Linked DNA regions of Homo sapiens: all the other regions are linked to region 2. Evidence: promoter capture Hi-C in 16 types of primary human blood cells and fetal thymus (Javierre and others, 2016). All regions are on one chromosome and are shown on one strand. Each heading gives the region's core, a stretch centred on a gene start or on the middle of the fragment in contact. The rest is flanking DNA. Distances are from core to core; before and after follow the strand shown. Region 1 overlaps LOC124902072 (a long non-coding RNA gene). Region 2 holds the start of DNAAF11 (dynein axonemal assembly factor 11). Region 3 has its middle 1.8 kb from the start of NCRNA00250.

Region 1 (3,622 bases), core at 581-3,080, 2.0 Mb after region 2:
CTGGCCAGGCCCTCGTGACTGGCAGCTTACATTGCCAAGACAGCTGCTTGGATCATGAGATGTAGCACAGCTGGTCCAAAAGGCAAATAAGAAACGATCCGTGGTGTCACCTCAAGTGTCTCAAAATCATTGAAGCACATGCTGAGAGCCCACCTCTCACTTTGCAGATGAGGAAGCAGAGGAGGGGAGGGAGTTGTCTAAGGTCACACCACAGGATAAGCATTGAGTGACAGGGCAGGAATCAGGCACCTGGAGATGGAGCTGCAAAGGACACTGTCCTCGACCTTGAGGGGCTTACAACGTGTTATTGACTGAACTGTGCCCCCCTTAACTCGTATGTTGAAATCCTGACCCCCAATACTTCCAAATGTGACTGCATTTGGAGAAAGGGCCTTTAAAGAGGTTATTAAGGTAAAGGGAGGTCATGAGTGGACTCTAATCCAACATGGCCAGGGTCATATTCCAAAAGTGGAAATTAGGACAGAGACACACAGAAGACACAGAGAAAAGGTGGCCATCTACGAGCCACCTTCTACAAGAGAGGCCTCAGAATGAACCCAACCCTGCTGACACCTTGATCTTGGACTTCTAGCCACCAGAATGGTGAGGACATAAATTCCTGTTGCTTAAGCCACCCAGTCTGTGGTATTCGTTACAGCAGTCACAGAAAAATAGTACACAGGCCTTGAGAAACAGACGTGAACACTGCTCCAATCCCTGGAGTAACAGGGATTCCTGTGAGCTGCCTGACTGCAGGCAGCACTGTCAGCATCCCCATCCCCCAGGATCGCCTGGGACCTCCCTCTTATCACATCGCTCCACCTCAGCTCCTTGGCAGCCAGGCCTCCAGCGGGAGGCAGAGGGCATCCTCAAGCTGGGCAATTGGAGGAGCATTTAATGAAGGGGCTCTTTACAAAGGTGTGGGCAGGGTTTTGGGAGGTCAGAGAGGAATGATGCAGCCCTTCTGCAACCTCGCCTCACCCCAGGCCTGCAGGCATGCGGAGGGAGTGCCCGCTGGAACCCAGGGCCAGGACAGGGCCTGTGCAGAGGAGTCCACCTTCAGCAAGACGGACCACCAATACTCTGCGACTTAGAGAAGGAGACTGAGGAATAAATGCCCAGACCGTACTCCGCTCCTGCCCTCCTGGTTTCCTGCCAGAGTCTCCCCTTGTCTGAAGCCAACCTGAAGACACCCCTTGAGGACCCCTTCACTGTACTGGGACCATGGGGGGCTGAGCCTCTGGGATCAGTCACCTCCCTAACCTCCTGCATGAGGAACAACTTGACGAACACACATTTCAACCTGTAACAGGGTGGACAAGCAGAACCCTTCTTCAGAAGCACATTTATGAAGTTCCCGCAGTAACTGGCTCAGAGAGAAATGCTGCTGTAACAGCTGAGAGAAAACTGATAACCCTGAAAATAAAGTGTCCATGGAAATCTCATATATTGCCTATTGTTTAAAAACAATGTCTCACATAAAAGAGGTGATGGATTAGTTTCTTTCATTATGCTGCCTCAAGCTATCTACGTGGACAAAAACCTACGCAGCTGCTTTTACACTTTAGAGCTAGACTTGATTCACTTCCATTCTTAGGAGTCAGGGGTGGCATTTGGTGGGCATCTCTTGATGCAGAATCTTATGCCAGTTTCTATAAGCAGGCTCAGGTGCCATCTGCATAGGAACTCCAGAGGGTGGACATGTAAAGAAACTTTGGGACTGTGCATTGGTCACCATCTTGGAGGGTGATGGCAGCTGCCCTGTAAATTATTGGGTAGGCATCTTGAGAGGCAGGGAGATGCAGTGAGCTCCAAGCCCAGTCAAGGCATAGCAGAAGGAAGGACAATGGAACACAGGTGACCCAGGGTGACATTTGTCAATAGATACAGCATGGACACTGGCTAATCAGAAAGAACGCATGCCCCTGATGTGCCAGGGGTTACTCCTTTAATTTTAGAAGCTGAGAAAGAAGGTCCTAGGAGTTTGGGGCCAGTGGGCTATACTGCCAAGAGTATGGGGACACAGGGCCAGGGCTTAAAGAGGTGCTATTTACTAAATCACTAAATAGGGAAAGATTTCGTTAGTATAATAACCACCATGGCCATAACTCATGTATATGGGTTGAACAGCAGCCCTGCTGGTAGGTGGCCAACTGGTCTCGGGTGGTCTGGGCCTTTCCTGGTTTCGTCACTTAAAGTCCCAGAACCTCTTTAGCCTGCCCTGGGTATCATTCTATCAGTTACGTTACCTGCCAGTCAAGTTACACAGTGCAGGCTAGAAGCTCTCAAAGGGGAGCTGTCTATAGCAAGGGGGAGAAACTCGCCTCCCTTCCCCTTACAGAGTCAAGATTACCATGGGCTGTGGGGGAATTCACCCCACACTCCCCAGTTAAAGCGCTTCTCCCTTTGCGAACTGAAGTCCAAGCAGTTCTCACCCATGGAAGTCCTTGGCAACCAAGCTCACCTCTCCACCTGTGCTCTCCACCGCAAGCTCAGTTGCAGTTGCACCTCTGCAGGTTCTTTAAAGCCCCTCCCTGGGGCCTTGCTTGAGAAAACAGCCCCCCATCTGCTCCTACCCCTGCTCCTCTTTGCAGATCTCCCTCCAGCTCTCTGGGCTGGAGGTAACCTCCACAGAGAAGGCTTCCCCAACCCTGCAGATTAAGGCTACCATCCTTCCTGCCCGTTTCCTGGGCACACTGTACCGCCCCATCCCACATATCGTTATGGCTCGTTTAACTACTTTCTCCCTCAGAACTGTAAGCTGCCTCAGGGCACAAGTTCAAGCGCCTGGCAAAGAGTGGTGTATTAGTCTGATCTCAGACGGCTTTCAAGAAATATCTGAGACTCGGCCATTTATAAAGAGGATGAATTGGCTCATGGTTCCACAGGCTGTTCAGGAAGCATAGCACTGGCATCTGCTCAGCTTCTGGGGAAGCCTCAGGAAACTTACAATCATGGCAGGAGATGAAGGGGGAATGGGCACATATTACATGGCCAGCGTAGGAGCAAGAGAGGGACGGGGAGAGGTGCTACACGCTTTTCTACAGCCAGATCTCATGAGAACTCTATCACAAGAACAGCAGCAAAGGTATGGTGCCAAACCATTCACAAAGGATCCACCGCCACGATCTAATCACCTCCCATCAGGTCCCACCCTCAACACTGGCGATTACAATTCAACGTGAGATTTGGATGGGGACACAGAGCCAAACTGTATCAAGTGGGCCTCCCATACATATTGAATGAACGAAGCAACTAGATAGGAGTTAAAGAAAGTGGCATGGGCAAACCAGAGCCCTTTTTGGTAAGTTAATTAAGTCATTGGTCCTATGCACATATAAACAGGAAAAGCTCTGCCTTCAGCTCACCACTGTGAAGCCAGGCTGGGTTGGGAAAGAAGCAGAGAGCCAGGACTCAGTAATTACCGTGTGGCGGTCAACTGTTCATTAATCCGTTCAATTCATTCATTCATTCTATCAATGAATTAATTAGTGGACTTATTCCATTAACTTATTCCATTAATTCATTCTTCTCCTTTAAGACCCATGTTGTGCCAGGCACTGCCTAGGCTCTGTGGGTACAATGTGAGTGAAACAGACAAGAGTCCTCCTTTCATGGGGTC
Region 2 (3,176 bases), core at 671-3,170:
ACAATTAGCCACCAAGAAGCCCTGCTCTTTCTCACCTCTGGGCAATTCACTGAGCTTTCCTGTTTCCTTTCCAGACAGCACTGCTTCCTCAGAGAAGCCTCCACCCACCTTGGGGTTAGGTCCCCTACCCACACCCTCAGGGCACAGGCACCCCTCTCTCTCCTGGCTGTAACCACTATACTTCTGTTTGTCTTCTCCCTCCCTAGGAGGGTAGGCCCACATCTGCCTCCTTCCTCACTGTATCCTGCATTCAATACCTGATTCAAGGTAGACACTCCGATGCAAGTCTGACAAGTTAATGATTTAACAAATCAAAGTGGGCACGACTCAGAGAAAGAGGGCAAAGGAAAATTCCCGACATAAAAAAGCGAAGAAGAAGGAGAAGGAGAAGGAGGAGAAGGAGCAGGAGGAGCAGGAGCAGAAGGAGCAGGAGGAGGAGGAGCAGGAGGAGGAGGAGCAGGAGGAGGAGGAGCAGGAGGAGGAGGAGCAGGAGGAGGAGGAGGAGGAGGAGAAGGAGGAGGAAGAGGAGGAGGAGAAGGAGAAGGAGGAGGAGGAGAAGGAGGAGGAGGAGAAGGAGGAGGAGAAGGAGGAGGAGGAGAAGGAGAAGAAGAAAAAAACCAACTAGGGTGAGACCAGGGGATGGGGAGACAGCCCTGAGAAGAGAGGAAGAAATATCAGTAGCTGATTTAGGAAAGGAGTTTCAACATTTACAAATCACTCCCCCCCGACCCCCACCTCTCCCACTTGCAGGCTGTCAGGTCTTCCAGGGCAGAAAGCCCATCATCTGGAGCAGTCTCTTGATTTAAAAAAAGTTAATTATGACATTTTTACAATGATAAGTGATCAATTAGGTAGAGCTGTACAAAACTGCCATATGGGGAGCTCAAAAACGTTGTCGATATCAAAATGGTTCATACAATATAAATAACTTACCCGCATCACCTTGCAGTTTGTTAGTATATTCTTAAAGAAACACGTTTACTACCGGGCGCAGTGGCTCACGCCTGTAATCGCAGCACTTTGAGAGGCCGAGGCGGGCGGATCACCTGAGGTCAGGAGTTCGAGACCAGCCTGGCCAACATGGCAAAACCCCGTCTCTACTAAGAATACAAAAATTAGCCTGGCGTGGTGGTGCACGCTGTAATCCCAGCTACTCAGGTGGCTGAGGCAGGAGAATTGCTTGAACCCGGGAGGCGGAGGCTGCAGTGGGCCGAGATCGCGCCGCTGCACTCCAGCCTGGGCGACAGAGCAAAACTCTTGTCTCAAACAAACAAACAAAAACACGTTTATAACACTTACTGTGTCTAAAACAGTAGTATGATTGCCATTATTTTGGAGATGAAGAAGCTGAGGCCCAAGGGGTGAAGTCACTCGCTCAAAGTCACAGGAAGAGGGAGGACTTCAACCCTGGCTCCAGAGTCGGAACCCTCCACCATTAGGCTACACTGCCTTCCGGAATGAGTCCGAAGATTGCGGCTTGGAGACAGTGACTGGCCCACGTTCACAGCCAGTAAGGAGCCACTTGGCCGGAACGTGGTGTGTCTGGCGCCAAAACCCCTGCACGTTCCCCGACCCCTTTCCTGGAGTCCAGTGCCTTTCTGCCTCTTCCTCCCCTTCCCACGGCCCCGCCCATTTTACAGATTAGGAACCTGAGCTGGAAAAGGCCAGGCTGTCCGGCCAGTCTGCAGAGGACCTGGTGCAGCCGGGGCTGCGGTGCGGAGGGCCGGGTGGGGTTAGGGTCCGCCCAGGCGCGGGGGAACCGACAGCGCAGGGCGGGAGCGGGCGGCGAGGATCCCACGAGACCCGGGACTACTTCCACAAGGGGAACGATCGAGGACGGAAGGTGGAGGGGGGCTTACTCCAGCCCATGGCGCCTCTCCAGTTCGCTGACCCCGCAAGCCGGACCCGGACCTCGAATGACGCTTTTCACCCTTCACCCCTGCTCCTCAGCGCGTCCCCGTCGGAATTCAGGAGCCATGGCAACGGGGACTCTACGGCGGCCGCGCGGGACCAAAACAAGCCGCGTTTCCTGAGCTCCGCGGAGCAAGCAGAGGAGACCGCAGTGAAGGGGCTCAGCAGACAGGGGTTCCCCAACCCAAACCCAGTCTTCGTCCTCGTCGCACTTCCGACTTGCCACAGACTGCTTCCCTCTCCCTGAATCAATGGTTTAGAGTGAACAAAGTATGAGGACGCTTCTCTTTTCTGTGCCTTCCAGGCTTGCCTTCCAGACCGCCTTTGACTTTTTCCTTTTTGTGTTTGATTTACAGCTTCCAGAGCCAACAGATCTGGATTTGGCCCCCAACTCTACCAGCGGCGTGACCTTACACTTCCTTCTCCTCAGTTTGCACATCTGTAAGATGAGAAATAACCTAAGAGGATCACTGTGAAGCTTTAATTAGATAATTTGAGTGAATGAAAGACACTATGAAAACAACAGGCTCACTATAAAGATTCGTTGTCGTTGTCATATTCCAGCTTTTTAAAGTCACTCTCCAACACTCGTTTCCGGCTAACAAGCTTTCCAGAAACGCCACCCATTACCCCCTCCATCAATTTCCCTATTCTCCACTCTCTTAATTGTAAAATGTAGGAAGTATATCTCCTACAGCCCCACACTCCCCTCACGTTTCCCCAGACCCTTCTCCAAAAGTGTGCAACGCGCCTTCTCCCATTCTAAACTAGGAAGCACATCAGCAAGCTCATTCACCCTCAGATCTTAGTGTTAGCACTTTAATGCGTTAGCTTCCCAAGAATCTTTAAAAGGTACCATTATTATGAAAGTAATTATTATTCTTTACTCCATTTGCAGAAAAAGGAGGGGGGCAATATGTAAAAGGTAAAACCTTCTCCCATCCCAGTCGTTTTAAACAGTATGGAGTGCGTGCTTCTTATCTTGATGTGTGTATTATGTTTGCATTTTAAAAGAAGATTCCTAGAGCAATGCTGAGTGCAAAGAAATTAATTTTTCTAGCGAATAGCTGTTAAGCATTTACAGCTGGCAATTATTAGAGTTTGCCAGGTAGAGACAAGGTCATGAACTTGGACAGAGAGGCAGGAAAGTCTAACAGAGTGAGGTGATGGGGGGAAGCAGAAACATCAGTTTGGCAATAAAGAGAGCTAGATAGAAGGGATCTTCGAACAGTAAGAATGAGAGATTAGATCGGGGGTAATGGGGG
Region 3 (3,530 bases), core at 818-3,317, 2.2 Mb after region 2:
GAGGAATTTTGAAATCAAACAGCGTTTGCTTACTTTGAACTTGTACTATTTGTCCCTTTGTCTAATTTGGCACAAAAATGGAAAGCCTGGTGGTATGCTTGCATCCAGTATTGTTCCCCTCTTGATATGCTGTTTAACTCTCTCCATGTGCAAGTCCTCACCATACCTAGTCCTTTCATCCCTCGTCATACTATGGCACGAGCAAATGCCCAGTAGCATGATCTTGAAGTTATTTGCAGTTTATCCTTATCTTTATTTGTCAGTCTTCAAGTCCCATAAAGTCTTCCTCTTAAATGGTAGTGAGAGCGATTAACTGTCTTCCACGCCCTTGGTCACTACCTTAGGGTAACCCCTTGTATCTCTCACCTGGACTCTTACCAAAACCTGCTTCCTAACTGGTCTTTTTGCTTCATCTTAGGCCCATCTATCCCAACTTCCAACACACCCCAGACTCTATAGACAGACTTAGAACTTACATTTTATGTTTTAAAATATAAATATTGAACATATAAGGATAAGATGTTTAAAATTGGCCATTGGGATCTGAAGGACCCATCTAAGGCTTTTTTTGGAGGCTAAACAATGAGAACATCTTTGAATTAGTGACATTGTGAATTAACAGAGAGCTAAGATGTCTCTTGGTATTTAATAGGCAATCCTCAAAAAGTTGGATTAAAAAAAATGCCACTGTGTGTGTGTGTTTAAGTACCTTATTACTAAGAGAGAAAGAACATTCAGTTCCCATTTTAGGGGCTCTCCTGCTCCAGGATTACTGAGGGTCCTCTGGAGTGTGCATGGGCTCAGGTGAGGTTATAAGCACATCCTTGACAGGAGGGTGCTTCTATCAGGGAAGGCCAATATCTTTCCGAGAACGTAAGCTTGTGGGAGGAGGTGGTAAACGAGGAAGCAGTGGGGACATGAAGTGAGAACGCAGTACTCAGCCAGACCAGCTCAATCAGTCCTGGTGATGAACAAGGTGAATCAGCTGCACTACCCTTACGGCCTGTTAGGACTGATGTATTCAAATTAGGCAGCTGCATGCACAGTATGCACTGCACAAACCCAGGGAAGCTATTTGCATGGGAGTCTGTGAATGGCATCCTCTGGGACTGTGCAGTGCTCAACCTCTATGAACATATGTAGCAGTCCTGAGTGACATGTACATGGCATGTCTCTGTCTACTTTGGCAATCTAAATTATCCTGATGATATCTTCGATAATAGAAATAAACATTTGTGGGATATCTACCAATTGTCATCTCAAAAACTTATTTTAATGTACAAATTTTATATCTAAAGATTTGCGCATGTTTCAAAATGCTTATTAGACTGATGTCATTACCATTCATTTATTCTAAAAAATGACAATTGAGCTGCTAAGTTTCAGGCATGATTCAAAAGCCTGGTTCTATAAATGTATTGAGCACCAACTACAAATCTTAGAAACACCATTAACTGATTTCTTTAAAATATCAGCTTATGTTTATGTTTTTTTCAGTTTATGCCATTTTATAATATGAAGATGTCCTCTATATCCTCTTTTTTAGAGATGGAATCTGGCTCTGTTGCCCAGGCTGGAGTGTAGTGGCACGATCTCGGCTCACTGCCACCTCCACCTCCAGGGTTCAAGCACTTCTCCTACCTCAGCCTCCTGAGTAGCTGGGATTACAGGTGCCTGCCACCATGTCTGGTTAATTTTGTATTTTTAGTAGAGATGGGGTTTCACCATGTTGGCCATGCTGGTCTCGAACTCTTGACCTCAAGTGATTTGCCTGCCTCAGCCTCCCAAAGTGCTGGTATTACAGGCATGACCCACCGTGCCTGGCCTCTAAATCCTCTTTATTTCATAGACAATCATCTATTAAAATCTGGAGATGAAATGTTCTTTCATTTCAGACAATTCAATATAGTAGGATGCCTCAGTGAATATAAAGCTTTTACATAATTTTTTTCCTCCTGGCGTTATCAGAAGAGGTAACAGAAAGTTAAGTTGGCTTTGTTAGGAGTCTCCTGGGAGCCCTAGGGAAAGCTACCTTAGTAGAGTGGGTGCAAGACCCCACTGGCCAGAAAAGAGTATAATTATGCTTTGAGCCCTGGATCATTCTGTAGAGGAAAGCTGCCCTCCAACCAGAAACATCTAATTTAGATGGTTATATGAGCGAGAAATAACTGAAAATTTGTTTGTTTGTTGTTGTTATAGCAGCAAGCTTTACTCAATGAATTAATTGGAAAAGTAAATAATATGACCATATTTGCACCCCAAATTTGTGGAGCTGCTCATACTAACAATTTTAAATTCTTTTTTTTCAATAGCTTTTAGGATACAAGTCATTTTTGGCTACATGGATGAGTTATATAGTGATGAATTCTGAGATTTCAGTGCTCCCATCACCCAAGTAGTGTACATTGTACCTAATGTGTAGTGTTTTTATCCCTGGCTCCCCACTCCCACCCTCTTGCTTCTGAGTCCATTATATATAAATGATATAAAGTGATATAAAGTCCATTATGTCACTCTGTATGCCTTTGCATATTCTAATAATGTTAAACTCTTAATTTCTGAACATGCAATTAAGTGAGCCTCTGCCTCTAGTAGTCTTTACAGTTGACCCTTGAACCACCCGGTTTGAACTTCGTTGAGCTGCTATACTTGGATTTTCTTCTGCCTCTGCCATTGCTGACAGTACAACCAACCTCTCCTCTTTCTCCTCTTCCTCATCCTACTCAACATGAAGATGATGAGGATGGAGAGCTTTATGATGATCCACTTCCACTTAATGAAGAGGAAATATATTTTCTCTTCCTTACGATTTTTTCATTAATGTTATTTTCTCTGGCTTACTTTATTATAAGAACACAGTATATAATACATATAACAAAATATGGGTTAATCGACTGTTTATGTTATCAGTAAGGCTTCTGGTTAACAGTAGGCTACTAATGGTTATGTTTTTGGGGATTCAAAAGTTATGCTTGGGAGTTTTGACTGCGCATACAGGGGTTGTTCCCCTAGTTCAAAGGTCAGCTGTATTACATGGCTTCCAGGTCTTTGATGGCTGTGCTATGCATGAGTGTCACTGCTGGAAAACTGTTATGTGCAGTTCCAGAAGCTGACATACTTAGTTAAAAAAAAAAAGGGTTGGGGGGGGCTACTCAGGAGGAATCAATACACACATACATATGTTGAATCACACAGACACTCACGTACTCACATACACACACACACACACACACGTACTCACACATGCTACACAATAGTAGGATGCAGAGTTCCATCATTTGAAACTCTGGAAAAACTTTCACCATTTTTACTATTATTACCAGCATCAACATCTTTCTCGCCATTGTAAGTCAAGACATTGGAAAAAGTCTGAAACAATAATCTTGACTATTCACAGTAACTCCGGAACAATGAAGGAGGAAGAATGAATGAGTTGCGCCCTGAAGATGGTGGGCTCTCCTTTATGCATGATCATCACGATCTCTCTGCAATGTCTGTCCTGTGACCTCGTGAGGTGTGCAGCGTCATGC

What was found. Contacts are between HindIII fragments. The CHiCAGO score rates a contact against its expected background, and 5 or more counts as called.
Region 1: a contact is called between a fragment that was not itself captured here and the fragment with the promoter of DNAAF11 in region 2, in 1 of 17 cell types (monocytes). The highest score is 5.9, in monocytes.
Region 3: a fragment that was not itself captured here is called in contact with the fragment with the promoter of DNAAF11 in region 2 in 1 of 17 cell types (total CD8 T cells); the score reaches 5.7 in total CD8 T cells.

Annotation. Positions count from the first base shown.
Region 1 is chr8:134,722,466-134,726,087 of GRCh38, forward strand. LOC124902072 (a long non-coding RNA gene) reads left to right here. Exons shown (of 2, transcript XR_007061187.1): 2 at 987-1,445. It also overlaps a transcript of ZFAT not described here. Among named protein-coding and RNA genes, the nearest start is that of ZFAT, 11 kb to the left of the region's middle. The HindIII fragment of the contact is 7,755 bases long and covers 1-3,622 here.
Region 2 is chr8:132,673,625-132,676,800 of GRCh38, forward strand. It overlaps DNAAF11 (dynein axonemal assembly factor 11), which reads right to left and starts at 1,921. Exons shown (of 12, transcript NM_012472.6): 1 at 1,860-1,921. The coding sequence starts at 1,869. LOC105375767 (a long non-coding RNA gene) reads left to right here and starts at 2,006. Exons shown (of 2, transcript XR_928665.4): 1 at 2,006-2,181; 2 at 2,268-2,434. The HindIII fragment of the contact is 7,589 bases long and covers 1-2,387 here.
Region 3 is chr8:134,834,511-134,838,040 of GRCh38, forward strand. No RefSeq gene overlaps it. Among named protein-coding and RNA genes, the nearest start is that of NCRNA00250, 1.8 kb to the right of the region's middle. The HindIII fragment of the contact is 273 bases long and covers 1,932-2,204 here.